Linked DNA regions of Homo sapiens: region 2 is linked to region 1. Evidence: promoter capture Hi-C in human tissues and cell types (Jung and others, 2019). All regions are on one chromosome and are shown on one strand. The core of a region is centred on a gene start or on the middle of the fragment in contact, and the rest is flanking DNA. Distances in the headings are between cores, read along the strand shown.

Region 1 (7,259 bases), core at 2,775-5,274:
AGTAAGTGGAGGCATGTGTACATATGTCAAGGATGCCTATTTTTATCACTCCTATTGATATGGTTTGGATCTGTGTCCCCACCCAAACTTGAAATGTAATCCCCAGCGCTGGAGGTGGAGCCTGGTAGGAGGTGATTTGATCATGAGGGCCATTTCTCATGAATGGTTTAACACCATCCCTCTTGGTGGTATTGTCATGATAATCAGTTCTTGTGAGATCTGGTTGTTTAAAAGTGTGTGGCATCCTCACCCCACCCACACTGCTCCAGAATGTGAAGCACTGGTGCCCCTTTTGCCTTCTGCCATGACTGTAAGCTTCCTGAGGCCTCCCTAGAAGCAGAAGCCTCTATGGTTCCTGTATAGCCTGCAGAACCATAAGCCAATTAAACCTCTTTTCTTTATAAATTACCCAGTCTCAGGTATCTTTATAGCAATGTAAGAATGGACTAATACACCTATTCAACATAGTACTGGAAGTCCAATCCAGTGTAATCAGGTAAGAGATAGAAATAAAAGCTGTCCCAATTGGAAGAGAGGAAGTCAAATTGTCCCTCTTTGCACATGACATGATTTTATATTTAGAAAAATCTAAAGACTCCACCAAAAAACTATTAGAACTGATAAACAAATTTAGTAAAGTTGCAGGATACAAAATCAACATATAAAAATCAGTAGTGTTTCGATACACCAATAACAAACTAGCTGAAAAAGTAAGCAAAAAGGCAATCCATGAAGGCTAAAACAACTCCATCTTGGATGCTAATCTGCCATATGGACTTCTAGTTAACCTGTTCTGGGAAGGCCTCTAAAATTTCCAGTTTATCTACTGTTCCTTGTATAAGAGCACATACTATAAATCCTGCTTCAAAACAACCTTGACGTTATCCTACTTCAATTGGTCTACAGAGCCCTTCTAAATCACATATACCCTTTCCTTATGGTATATAAGCCTTGGGTCTGGAGGGGTAATGGCACAGGGATCCACCAGCTTATCTTACCACCACCCAAGACACAGACATGGCTTCTGTTTTAAGTCCTTATTAAATGTTTCTTTCTGAGAAACTGGATTTGTCAGCCTCTTTCTGTGGCCTCTCAGCTTCCTTGAACTTTGGGGGTAGGTTTGCATAGACCTGCCCATGGAACACAATCTCATTCACAATAGCTATTTTAAAAATAAAATACCTGGCAATAAATATAACCAAGGATGTGAAAGACCTCTGCAAAGAAAACTACAAAACACTGATAAAATAAATTGAAGAAGACACAAACAAATGGAAAGACATTCCATGTTCATGGATCAGAAGAAATGATATTGTTAGAAAGATCATACTATCCAAAGCAATCAACAGACTCAATGCAATCTCTATCAAAATGCCAATGACATGTTTCACAGAAGTAGAAAAAACAGTCCTAAAATTCATATGGAACCAAAAAGGACCCTGAATAGCCAAAGTTATCCTGAACAAAAAGAACAAACCTGTAGGTATCACACCGCTTGACTTCAAAATATATTACAAGGCTAAACAGCATAGTATTGGTATAAAACCAGACACATAGATCAATGGAACAGAATAGAGAACCCAGAAATAAATCCATATATTTACAGCCAATTGATTTTCAACAAAGGTGCCAAGAACATACAATAGAGAAAGGACACCCCTTCAATAAATGGTGCTGGGAAAACTGGATAGCCACATGCAGAAGAATGAAACTGGATCCCTACCTCTCATCATATACAGAAATCAACTCAAGATGTATCAAAGCCTTAAACATAAGACCGAAAACCATAAAGCTACTAGAAGAAAACATAAATGAAATGCTCCAGGACATTGGTCTAGGCAAACAGTTTATGGCTAAGACTACAAAAACACAGGCAACAAAAACCAAAATAGACAAATGAGATTATATTAAACTGAAAAGCTCTGCACAGCAAACGGAACAATCAACAGAGTGAAGAGACAACCTGTGTAATGGGAGAAAATATTTGTAAACTATGCATCTGACAAGTGACTAATATCCAGAATATGTAAGGAACTCAAACAACTCAACAACAACAACAAAACAAATAATTCCATTAATAAATGGGCAAAGCACCTGAATAGGCATCTCTCAAAAGAAGACATACAAATGGCCAACAGGTATATTAAAAAAAACTCAACATCACTAATCATCAGGGAACTTCAGATCAAAACTACAATGAGATAGCATCATCTTACCCCAATTAGAATGGCTATTATCAAAAAGACAAAAAATAACAGATGCTGGTAAAGATGTGGAGAAAAGGGAACTCTTATACATCATTTGTGGAAGTGTAAATTAGTACAGCCATTATCAAAAACGGTATACAGATTTCTCAGAAAACTAAAATAAAACTACCATACTATCCAGCAATCCTGCTACTATTTATTCAAAGGATAGGGAATTGGTGTATCAAAAAGATACCTGCACCCCCATGTTTATTGCAGCACTATTCACAATAGCCAAGATACAGATTCAACCTAAATGTCTATCAATAAATAAATGAATCAAGAAACTGTGGTATATATTTACAATGGAATCTTATTCGGCCATAAAAAAGAATGAAGTCCTGCCATTTGCAGCAACATGGATGGAACCGAAGGTCATTAAAGACAAATATTACATGTTCTCACTCACATGTGGGAGTTCACAAAGTTGATCTCATGGAAGTAGAGAGTAGAATGATATTACCAGAGGTGAAGAACGGTGTGTGTTAGAGGAGAAGTGAGTTTGGTTAATGGGTACAAACATACAGTTACACAGAAAGAATAAGTTCTAATATTTGATAGCAGCATAGGGTGACTACAGTTAACAATGTATTGTATGTCTCAAATCAGCTAGAAGAGAGAGTGTAAAATGTCCTCAACACAGAGAAATGATAGACAAGGTGATGAATATCCTGATTTCATCATTACGTATCCTCTGTGTGTAAAGTATTTCATATGCCCCATAAATATGTAAACATATTATGTATCAATTTTTAAAAAGTGCCATATGTAGATCAGTGATGGGAGTGTGTGCTGCAGAACTAATCCAGTTCTGTAAACCTGAGATCCTCCGCGACCCGGGAAGCAGGACATCCACCAACCACATGGGAAAGCCCGATCCTCAGTGCTCTGAGGCTTTGGCCATCAATGCAGGGCTTGCTGGCCTGGAGCAGGAGTGGACAGCCAGTGGGGAAGCGAGGCCACTCCACCACAGGCGGGTAAGTCACCGCTGTGGCCACTGCAGCTGGGCCCCAGGAGCCCTGGGAGAGACCACATGGGCATCTGCAGCCGCGCCCTCCACCCGGGACACCACCTTCTGATGAGCACTGGGTGAAGGGATCACTGAAGAGGGTTTAGCAGCAAATTCTATGTAATCAGCAGAATAGATAGCGGGGAGTATAGAAATAAAAAAGAGAGACAAGAAACGCAGAGTTGCATGGGGAAAGCTGGTTTATTTGACTCTCATGGGGTCAGAGAATGACTCTGGGACCCCAGACTTCCCTGGGGGGATAGGCAAGTTCAGCCAGGGCTCCAGATCATTCTATTATATTCTCGATCCAGAATTCAGAGGGTTCACTGAGCATGCTTTTCACCTGCACCATGTGCAGAAGACCAACTGAGGACTCATCCAGGGAGTGTACAGGTGTGGCCTCATCTGCACTGGGAGCAGCGGGTCTGGAGATTCATGCTCAGCAGCAGGAAGGGGTGCTGCAGGAGATGGGTCTGCAGAGGACGCTGGTGCAGGAAGGCTGGCAGCACCCAGAGGACTGGCAGGAGGGAGCCGCATACACGACGGGCCTGCAGCTCACGGGCACGCACACAGAGGACTGGCATCTCACGGGCACACACACGGCTGGCTTGAAGCTCACGGGCACGCACACGGAGGACTGGCAGCCCACGGGGATGTAACAGGATGCCTGGCAGGGGCTGGGCGCGCAGCAGGCTGGCTGGCAGCCCGAGGAGCAGCTGGTGTGGCACATGGTGGCGTGTGGCTGGATAAGGTCGAGGCAGAGGGCAGTGATGTCTGGGGATGGCCTCCCTGGGTAGCCTTTATACCTGGACCCAGGCATCCCCACAGCACAGAAGCACACACCTGTTGTCTTCCTTGTTTTTCTTCCTCAAGGCTGTTTCCTGGAACTCAGTTTTCTGTCGTAGATGATGTTTTTTATCTGGCCCTTTGTTTCGTGACTAATTGCACCCTCTTCAAGCTCTTGTTACATTTGGAAACCTGCCCAAATTTATCAGTGATGCACAGGCAGTTTTAGCTCCACCTGCCTGATATCTGCCTCCCTTCGTTAGTTCTACGCTGAAGCAGACATGAGTGGTACCCAAAAGAGCTCCTCGAACCGCAACTTCTGTTGCATCAACCAGAAACTTTGGGGAAGAGACCAGAACTGAATATAGACAATGAAATCATACTGGGGAACCTGCTGGAGTGAGTGATGCAAAGCTGGCTACTCTATCAACTATACAGTTGAGATTTAGGAGATGCTCGTTTTCAGGCAGCCGTCAACCAGCAGTGCAGACTGTGCTTCCTGAGAGAGAAGAAACTTAGGAGATAAACTCCCATTTCCCAGCTCTCTGCTGGGGCAGGCTTCCAAAATGCAGTGTCACCTTCCAAAATGCAGTGTCACCAGCCGGAGTCAGAGCAGAATACAGTGACCCAACTCTGCCGAGGAGGAAGGGGCCAGCGCTCAAGCAGCTGAAGCCCTGGAGTCCGAGGAGCAGAGAAGCGGAAAGAAGGATCCGTGTGGAGAGCAGGCCCCACACTGTGGAAGCTGACTGTGAATCTGTGGAACGGGGCAGGGCTGTGCATTCCCAGGGCAAGGCAACCACAGGCTCACCAGAGAGAAGCTGCTAGAGGATTGAGAGTGAAGCCCCCCTCCAGTCCCCACGTCGACATCCAGCCGAGACCCCCTACAGCCCGGCACCAAATGAGTAAGGACCACAGACTACAGTGAGACCCGCCTAGGCCAGCCCGAACAAAGCCTAAACCAATTCAGAATAGGATTTTTAGGGAAGACAGTTTGGAATGTGAGTCCCACCAAGATACAGAGTGTTCCAAGTTGTAGATGCTTCCCAGAGATCCACCCTAGCAAAGTGTTGAACAAAAACTGCACAAGATTAAGGTCATTCTCCAGTAACTGACGGCTAGAACAAAAATCAGAAACATGATACAGCTCAGAGTCTGTAAATGCATTATTATGATACCTCATACACAATCAAAATCATCAGATATTGACCAGGCACGGTTGTTTATGCCTGTAATCCCAGCACTTTGGGAGACCAAGATGGGAAGATTGCTTGAGGCTAGGAGTTTCAGACCAGCCTGGGCAACATAGTGAGACTCTGTCTCTACAAAAAAATGGTTAAAAATTAGCCAGACATGGTGGTGCATGCTTGTGGTCCCAGCTACACGGTAGGTTGAGGCAGGAGGGTCTATTGAGCCTGGGAGGTTGAGGATGCCATGAGTTATGATCACACCACTGCATTCCAGCCAGGGCAACAGAGCAAGACCCCGTCTCAAAAAACAAATCATCAGATATTAAAAGATATAGGTAAATTTAATTCACTGTTAAAAAAAATAAACCTGATATGGTCTAGATATTGGACATGGCAAATGATGACTGTAAGCAGCTATTATAGACATCTTCCAAAAAATCCAAGAAAACTGTTCAAATAATTAAAGGAAAACATTGTCTTCATGAATGGATAAATAGGGAATCTCAGTAGAGTAATTGAAGCTATTTTTTAAAATGGGAATCCTAGAACTGAAAAGTACAGTAGTTAGAAATTTTAAATACACCAAATTTGACTTCAAAAATCAACAACGTCCAAATCCAGGAATCTCAGAAAGCCCCCAGTAGGATAAATAGGAAGAAAACCACATCCAGGCACATCATGAAGTGATGAAAACCAAAAATGAAGACAAAATCTCAAAAGCAGTGACAGGAAGACACTTTACATACAAAGGAACAAGGATAAGAAAAACGCCCTGGCTTCTCATGAGAAACAGTGGAGACACATCTTTAAAATGCTGAGCAACAATAACTGGCAATCCGGAAGTCTACATCTATGAAGAACGTGCTTAAAGACTGAGACTGAGGCCGGGCCGGGCACTGTGGTTCACACCTCTAATCCCAGCACTTTGAAGGCTGAGGCAAGAGGATCACTTGAGCCCAAGAGTTGTAGACCAGCCTAGGCAACAAGCAAGAGCACATCTCTACAGAAAATTTAAAAATTAGCTAGGGGTGGCGGTGTGCACCTGTAGTCCCAACTATTCAGGAGGATGAGGCAGGAGGATAGCTTGAGCCCAGGAGTTCGAAGCTGCAGTGAGCTATGACTGCACCATCACACTTCAGCCTGGGTGACCAAGCAAGAAGGGTCTCAAAAAACCCCAGAAACTGAGATTGAAGTGAAAATCTGTTCAGAGGAACAAAAGCTGGGAGAAATCCTCCCCTGCAGATGTGCGCTGCAGGCAACGTGGACAGATGTGCTTTAGGTTGACTAGGACGAGGCCAGGTGGGCCCTGACCTGCAGGAAGGAGTAAGGGCCAGGCAACGTGCACGGATGTGCTTTAGGTTGACTAGGACGAGGCCAGGTGGGCCCTGACCTACAGGAAGGAGATGGGGGAAGGTAAAGGAGCAGGTAAATATCAAAGATGCATCCTCATTCTTCTGTAGTCAACTTGTAAGACAGCTAACCTTTAAAATGGATTACTTGGTGACTAGGTCACATAGGAACATGTGATCACTGTGGCTGCCCCAATTCTCTTGGTTTTTAAGTGTGATTCTGAACTATAGCAGTGAAAGGAGTTGCCTGTGACAGGGCTGAACTTGTGGCCTCGCCCGGCTTGTCCCTAGGCCTTAAGGTCACTCTCACATGGCCACAGATCGGCTCTGGGTCCATAGACTTCTAAGTTCTGTCCACAGCTCTGAGACCCCACTTGGTCTTCAGCCTTGGAGGGGATTTCATTAACATGGTGTCTGACTTGTCTGAAGGCTTCTTGGCAGGAATCACCCATATCCACCACCAGCAGGCACAGGAGGACCCACACAGGAGCAGAGGGTGCCCCTGGGAGCTGCCTGGGATGGAGGGAGTAGCTCTGCCGTGAGAGATGGCTCATACCCCTACTGTGTGACACCACCGTAGAATAAAGCGCTGTGGCCAATCCATCGAGAGAACAGAGCTGGAGTGTGAGGAGGAGCGTGCCATCCACACTCCTGCCCGCTGCTTCCCAAGTTCAGGGGCATC
Region 2 (7,259 bases), core at 1,852-4,351, 140 kb after region 1:
TCTGAGCCGAAAAGTGGGGCACCCCTCTGCCGGCCTGCACTGCTGGGATAAAGTCGTTTGTGAGTGAAGCAATGAGGCAGGGCCCTCCGGCTCACTCTGAAAGTCAAGTCTGGGGCGTCCTGGTACCCTTTCACCCCATGCTGAGCTGCTGCCCTCAGGAAGCACTGTACATCACACGCCTGTTCTCTCCACTTCTCCTTTCCTTCCCTGGCTGGGAGAGGGACAACTGTCCCAGCGATGCCTAAATACAGGGAGTGGGATGTAGAAGGCTCGCCTGAGGGTGAACCCAGGGACTGCACCCATGCTTGCTTCCCTGGGGTATGCACCCTGGGGAGACCCTGGGGAGGCATGGTGCTCTGTCAAGGGAGCTAGAGTGGCCTGCAAGGGGCCTTGGCAGTGAGGGGCTCCAGCTGCGAGCCTGAAGGTGCGTGTCCTGGGGCGGCACTCACCCCCCGACTCCAGTCTTGGGCCAGACACCCCTGCCCACTCCCGGGATGCCAGTGGCTTGGCGGCAGCCTGAGTGGTGAGCTGGCACACCCCCATCTCCCCATCCCGAATGTGGCCTCCAGCACAGAGACAACTGGCCTAGGAAGGAAGAGCATGCAAACAGCTCCAGGCAGGATGGAAGTGGGGACCCCTGCATGAGCCCCCTTCACTTCCCCAAGCATGAGGATGCACTGGCTTCTTTAGGGAAGGAAGGTATGAGTGTGTTCAAAGGCACAGATGCAGGGCCCAGACGTCCCCCACAGGGTAATGGCTGCAGCCCCGGGGGGAATGGCTGCAGCCCCGGGAGAGGCTGGGGCAGGGCAGGGCCGGCCACAGTGCCTCTGCTCCAAACAGAATGACGATCTGTCCCAGACCCCTGGTGAATTCCTAATAAGCAAGTGAACTCGTGAGTTAAAAAGTGAAGCCCTAAAAACATGGGCCTCAGTTTGCTACAGTCAATCCTCCACCTCAGCTATCCAGGGAAGTCAGAACCATTCTCCTGCCTGACCTAAAAGCTCTTCTTTCCAGCACCACCGGGCCCCAGAGTCCACCTCTTCCCCTTCGTCAGAGCCCCAGAGGGCAGAGCTGCTCCCACATGGGCTCAGAGGGGACCCACCAGAAGCGGGGCCTGTGAGGTGGCAGCCACTCAGTCATTCTGGAATTAAACAAGTGTTTTCAACGGAACTGGAGCCTGAGATTGACCACATGGCAGAGCTAAGTGTAAATACTGCTGAGAAAATTAATATCATATGTATTTTATTACATTTACTCTTCATTAAGAGGAAGCCACCTACAAAAACATAAAGGACATTTATATTTGACCTAGTTTTAACAAGTATTTAAATATTCAAACAACCCCAGAGTGGGAGAACTTTGACTTCACTGGAGTCAAAATGTAAAAAGCAAAGGTCACCCCAAATGCCATCTGGATAGGGCAGGTTTCCCTGGAGTCTGACCACAGCAAGCAGAGTGCAGACTTCCATAGAGGCCGCGACCATGGTTCCTGACGGTTCCATCCCACTTCCCGCCAGTGTCTGGCACTGAGCCTCCACCCTCATCTGTAAAGGGAGGGTGGTCACCTCCAGGACCAGGCCAGTATCAGAGACAGCCTCTTTACAGAGCCTTCAGCTCTAGTCATCTTCCACTGGGATGTAACATAGAGGCCGACAGTGCACACCAAGGGCTTCGGAAAGGTTCTCTTTTTATGAACACTGGAGAATGCGACTACAGACCCTCCCGAGAAGGAATGGCCAGTGCACCTGAATGCAGGGTGCATACCCCAGGACTGAGACTGGAGGGAGGCACACCCCAGCATGGCAATGGGGGAGACTAAAGCCCACCCAAGGCTGGATAAGGAGGGGTGGGCGCGCATGGTGGGGGAGGCGCAATGCAGAGAAGTGGGCGCACACCGTGGGGCGTGATAGGGAGGGGTGGGCACACACTATAGGGGGCGTGATGGGGAGGGGTGGGCGCACATCGTGGAGGGGGTGATGGGGAGGGGTGGACGCACACTGGGGGTGTGATGGAAAGGGGGACGCGATGGATAGGGGTGGGCGCACACTGGGGGACGCGACGGGGAGGGGTGAGCACACACTGGGGGTGTGATGGAGAGGGCGACGCAATAGGGAGGGGTGGGCGCACACCAGGGACGCGATGATGGGGACGGGTGGGCGCACACCAGGTGGCATGATGGGGAGGAGTGGGTACACACCATGGGGGGCGTGATGGGGAGGCGTGGGCGTACACCGGGGGGCGCGATGGGGAGGGGTGGGCGCACACCGGGGGACGCGATGGAGGCGGTGGGTGCACACGGGGCGCGATGGGTGGGAGTAGGTGCACACTGAGGGCACGATTGGGGAGACACGAAGGAGAGGGGTGGGCGCACACTGGGGGACGCGATGGCCGGGACACGATGCGGAGAAGTGGGTGAATACCGGGGTCGCGATGGGCGCCCTGGAAGGACGGCAGTGCTGCTCACAGGGGCCAGGCCCCTCAGAGCGCGCCCCTTGGGGGTAACCCCAGACGCTTGTTCCCGAGCCGACTCCGTGCACTCGACACAGGATCCCGCACCCAGGGCGATGCCGGGGGAGAGGGCGACCCCAACCAGCAATGACTCAGGAGAGGAGCACGCAAAGACGCTTCGGGGACACTGCTGGGGCGGGATCCGAGGGCGCCGCGCTCTGCAGGAGCAGCAGCGCGGGGCCCGACACCGGGCGCTCAAGGAGGCGCTGGGCGCGCGCCTTCCCAGCTGGGGAGGAGACGGGCGTGGAGCGGAGGCGTGGCCAGGCCCGGAGGGGGCGGAGCTCGCGGCACAGCGCGCTTCGCGGGGGCAGAGGGGGCGCACCTTGGGCGGGCCCACTTAGGGGCGGGGCTCTAGAGGGCGGGGAGGGGCGGAGCCTGTCAGGGGCGGGACGCGGGGCGGAGTCGGGGTGGGGGCGGAGCCGGGCTGGGGGCGGGACGCCCGCGATAGACGCGCGTGCAGGCGGGGTCGCCGCGCTTACCTTGGGCTTCTCCTCGGACATGGCTGCGCGAGCGGCGCGGGGAGGCGGCGCGGGGGAAGCAGCGCGGAGCGGGCGAGTCACGCTCTCGGCCCCGCCGCTCTCCCGCCGCAACTGTGCGCGGGGCCGCGCTTTATCCCCCAAATCCCGGCGCACCCGTTGGCCGGCACGGGGGTCACGTGGCTGCGCGCGTTCACGAGGCGCGCTCCCCGGGGCGTCGGGCGCGCGCAGGCCGGGCCGCGGCTCTGGGCGGTTGGAGATGCGTCACGGGGCGGGTCCCGCGCGACCCCGTCGGGCGCGGAAGCCCTAGGGCGCTGTGGGGCGCGGGCCAGGAGCGTTTACGGGGAGCCCGGGCCCTGGGGACCCTTGCCCGCCTCCCCGCGTCGCCCGGGCCCCGACTCCTTTCCTGGGGGCCGCGTTCCTGGGGCGCCGGGAAGTGAGGCCGGGGCCGCCGCCCATGGCCGCAGGGACCTGGGGCGGAGGAGGGAGGACGCTGGGGGTGACGTTCCCTCTCAGGAGCCGCGGACAGAGCGGAGAAGGCGGCCCGCGGGGTCCCGTCCGCGGGGGCCGCGCGAATCGGGCCAGCACCCTAGACGATTGGGGGCGCCACCCGCCTCCCTGCCGCCGCGGTTTCCTGTCAGCCCCAGGCCGGGCTCCTTTGGCCAACGCTCCTACGGGGCTGCCCCGGGCCCTCCACACCCGTCCTCAAGAAGACCCGTTTTACCTGTGAAGAAACTGAGGCACTGGGAGGTCAAACCACCCCCAGGTCAGCGCTGGTGAGCGGCGCCGAGCTTGGCCAGGCCGCCACGTCGGCGAGCGCGGGCAAACCCAGGCTGGACGCCGCCAGTGCCGGCGGAACGGGGACCTCGTGGACGCGGGAAACGCGCTGGGCCGGCAGGACGGCCTCCCCGGACTTGCGGGCGCCATTCCTGGGGTGCCTGGCCCGCCCCGGCCTCCATGTCTGTGATCCCAGGGCCTCGGATGGAACGGACCTGAGGGCGGACACCCCTGCGTCCCTCAGGAGTGCCCGGGTGGTGCCAGCCGGGGCGTGGCGGAGGTCTCATCTGATGGTGAGCCCGGCCGAAGGCGGGGGAGGCCGCACTTCAGGCTCAGCTGGGAAATGGCAGGGCCTGGATTTGAACCTAAGCGTCTGAGCCGTTTCTGTCCTGCCTGGGAAAGGCTCAGCCAACTGAGCAACGTCGCAAAGCCATGGAGACAAGTCTTCATGGACCATAACTTCACAAACCGTCTTCTACTCAAAAATTCACTTTCTTGGCTAGAGCCCCCACTTAGGAGGGGGAAGGCTGCTGAAGTCTTTCGGGGAGAGGGTCTGAGAGTCAGCCCCAGTCCCAGGCAGGTCATAAGGTGTGGTCCCTTCCTTCTGGAACCTGGAGCCCAGGGCCTCAGCAGAGGATGTGGAGGTGGGTGGCCAGCTCAGACGGTCCTGGGAGGGGGCTCCGCAACCAGCCCCTTCCGAGGGGACGTGGCGCCTCAGAGCCCACAGATTGCTGGCCCTGGAAGTGCCCTAGGGCAGGCAGGGTTCAGAGAGTTATCGACTCCAAGACACCGTTAATCATAAAACAACACGACCGTAGGTAGCACAGACACACTAAACTCCGGCAGGCTGTGGATGACGGCAGCCCGCTTCAGTGTTGTGGAAGTGAGAAACACGCAGCTTAGAAATCATGAGACACAGAACCCAAATGTGTTACCGCTCGAAATTACGCCAGTTGCTGTGTCACGAAGTGATGCGTGACTACAGTCATGGATAAGGGAAAAAGAGGCTCAGATGACATTAGGTTTTAAAAAGCCAGGCTATAAGACAATGGTGGTCTGAATTCAATTCATGCTGTGTCTGTCTCCCACACTGTGACCTGCCCCGAATCCTTCATGTGACAGCAAAGATGCAAAAAGGCTCTGTCGCAGCTGTGGGGACACAAAGGACACCGCTGGTGGACCGAACGCCAAGAGGTTTCTGAAGGACACAGCCAAAGGGGATCGAATGGACGGAGGAACCAGAGCTCAGGAAAAACCGTGGCCTACCACGAGCACAGGGTAAAGAACCCAAATGGCCAGAGCCCCTCCGGAGGGTCGCCACACCTGGCGATGGTCCCAACAAGAAGACTCATGAGAAGGCAGGGAACTGGCAAATGAGTAACAGCATTGCTGACATGAAAGCTCGACCCACATGTGACTAGGAGAGGGGTCCTGGCTGAGGACGCAAAGAACTGCGAGACAAAGTCACAGGACTCTCCCATGATGGAGAAGTTAAGAGAGGAAAGGTCAGGGCTGGGCTGGGTGGCTCATGCCTGTAATCCCAGCACTTTGGGATGCTGAGGCTGGTGGATTACAAGGTCAGGAGTTCGAGACCAGCCTGGTCAACATGGTGAAACCCCGTCTCCACAAAAAAATTAGCCGGGCCTGGTGGCGCATGCCTGTAATCCCAGCTGCTTGGGAGGCTGAGGCAGGAGAATCGCTTAAACCCAGGAGGCAGAGGTTGCAGTGAGCTAAGATCGTGCCGCTGCACTCCAGCCTGGGCAACAGGGTGAGACTCCATTTCAAAAAAAAAGAAAAGAGAGAGGGAAGGTTGGAAGGCCGAGACACCGGGCATCAGTACAGGAAGGGCTACGTCCACCTGACAGGAGCTGCAGGAGAAGGTGGAAAAAAGGAAACCAGGACAAAATCAAAGACAGAATTGGAGAAAATATCTCTGAGGCCAGGCACGGTGGCTCACGCTTGTAATCCCAGCACTTTGGGAGGCTGAGGCAGGCGGATCACCTGAGGTCAGGAGTTTGAGACCAGCCTGAGCAACATGGTGAAACCCCATCTCTACTAAAAATACAAGAATTAGCTGAGTGTGGTTGTGTGTGCCTGTAATTCTGGCTCCTTGGAAGCCTGAGGCTGGAGAATCAGCTTGAACTCAGGAGGCAGAAGCTGCAGTGAGCCAAGGTCGCACCACTGCACTCCAGCCTGGGCAACAGGGCAAGACCCTATCTCAAAGAAAAAGTAAAAATAAGAAATTTCTCTGAACTAAAGAAATATTTGACTCCATAAATGGAAAGGGCCCCTGAGTATCCAATGGCTGAGTGAGAAGACTGACACAGATGCTTGGCATGTGAGGAGAAATCCCTGAGGCGTTCAGAGACGTTTCTACTTACAGTTAGGGAGGACTGGTTGCCTCAGACAAACCCAACAAAAATAGCCCAAAAATCAGTATAAAATATTCTTTAAATCTGTTTAAGGCTATCAGCTACCAAAAGAAGTCTTTCTGTGAGGGGCAAAGACCTTCCCCCACCTCAAAAAGAAAAGGGAAGAGTTTTTTTCCTTTGAGGCACTTGGTGATTAGTATCCTGTGTTAGCCTAGACTTCCATAAAAACATACAGACCGGGGGCCGGACGCGGTGGCTCACGCCGGTAATCCCAGCACTTTGAGAGGCTGAGCCAGGCAGATCACCTGAGGTCAGGAGTTTGAGACCAGCCTGAACAACATGGAGGAACCCCATCTCTACTAAAAATACAAAATCAGCCGGGCATGGTGGCGCATGCCTGTAATCCCAGCTACTCGGGAGGCTGAGGCAGGAGAATCGCTTGAACCTGGGAGGCGGAGGTTGTGGTGAGCCAAGATAGCACCATTGCACTGCAGCCTGGGCAACAAGAGTGAAACTCTGTCTCAAAAAAAAATAAATAAATAATACAGACTGGGCAGCTTAAACCATTGATAGTTATTTCCCAGCCTCCAGACAGTTCTAGAGACTGGAAGCCCAAAATCAGTGAGCCATCAGGGTTGGTGTCCGGTCAAGCCTCTCCTCCCAACTTGTATGCAGCCAACTTGGCGTGTTCTCACAATGGCCTTTCTGCTGTGTCTGCAGAGAGGGAGAGATCTCTGGTGTATCTTCCTCCTTTTGCAAAGACACCAGTCCTCTGGGATTAGGGCCCCACCCTTATCACCTCAGTTAACCTTAATCACCTCTTTAAAGGTTCTGTCTCCAAATGAAATCACATTGGAGGTCAGGGCTTCAACATGTGAATGCTGGGGGGACACAATTCAGTCTCACATATGCAGTGGAAAGAAGTTGACACACTGAGCAGAGCTTTTGCATCTCCTAGGGTTGGGGAGACAATAATTGGTGACAGCCCACAAGATAGGGAGACTCTGATGAGTGACCCAGACCTTCAGCTGAGAGCACTGAGGGCTGCAATAGGGGAGGAAGGCTGAGGGGTGAGTAGATCGTCCCTCTCAAAGTCTGAAACCAAGCTTCCAAAGGGCTGACTCCC

The links. Contacts are between HindIII fragments. The study calls those that stand out against the background at their distance.
Region 2: the fragment with the promoter of SUMO3 here is called in contact with the fragment with the promoter of KRTAP12-1 in region 1 in 1 of the 25 tissues and cell types used here (mesendoderm cells).

What each region holds. Positions count from the first base shown.
Region 1 is chr21:44,678,139-44,685,397 of GRCh38, forward strand. It overlaps KRTAP12-1 (keratin associated protein 12-1), which reads right to left and starts at 4,025. Exons shown (of 1, transcript NM_181686.2): 1 at 3,438-4,025. The coding sequence starts at 3,985. The coding sequence ends at 3,695. All of the region lies in intron 1 of TSPEAR (thrombospondin type laminin G domain and EAR repeats), which reads right to left. It also overlaps the pseudogene IMMTP1. The HindIII fragment of the contact is 13,337 bases long and covers 1-7,259 here.
Region 2 is chr21:44,814,961-44,822,219 of GRCh38, forward strand. It overlaps SUMO3 (small ubiquitin like modifier 3), which reads right to left and starts at 3,102. Exons shown (of 4, transcript NM_006936.3): 1 at 2,988-3,102. The coding sequence starts at 3,008. RefSeq lists an enhancer at 440-954 and silencers at 2,634-2,833, 3,014-3,593, 3,614-3,713. The HindIII fragment of the contact is 28,474 bases long and covers 1-7,259 here.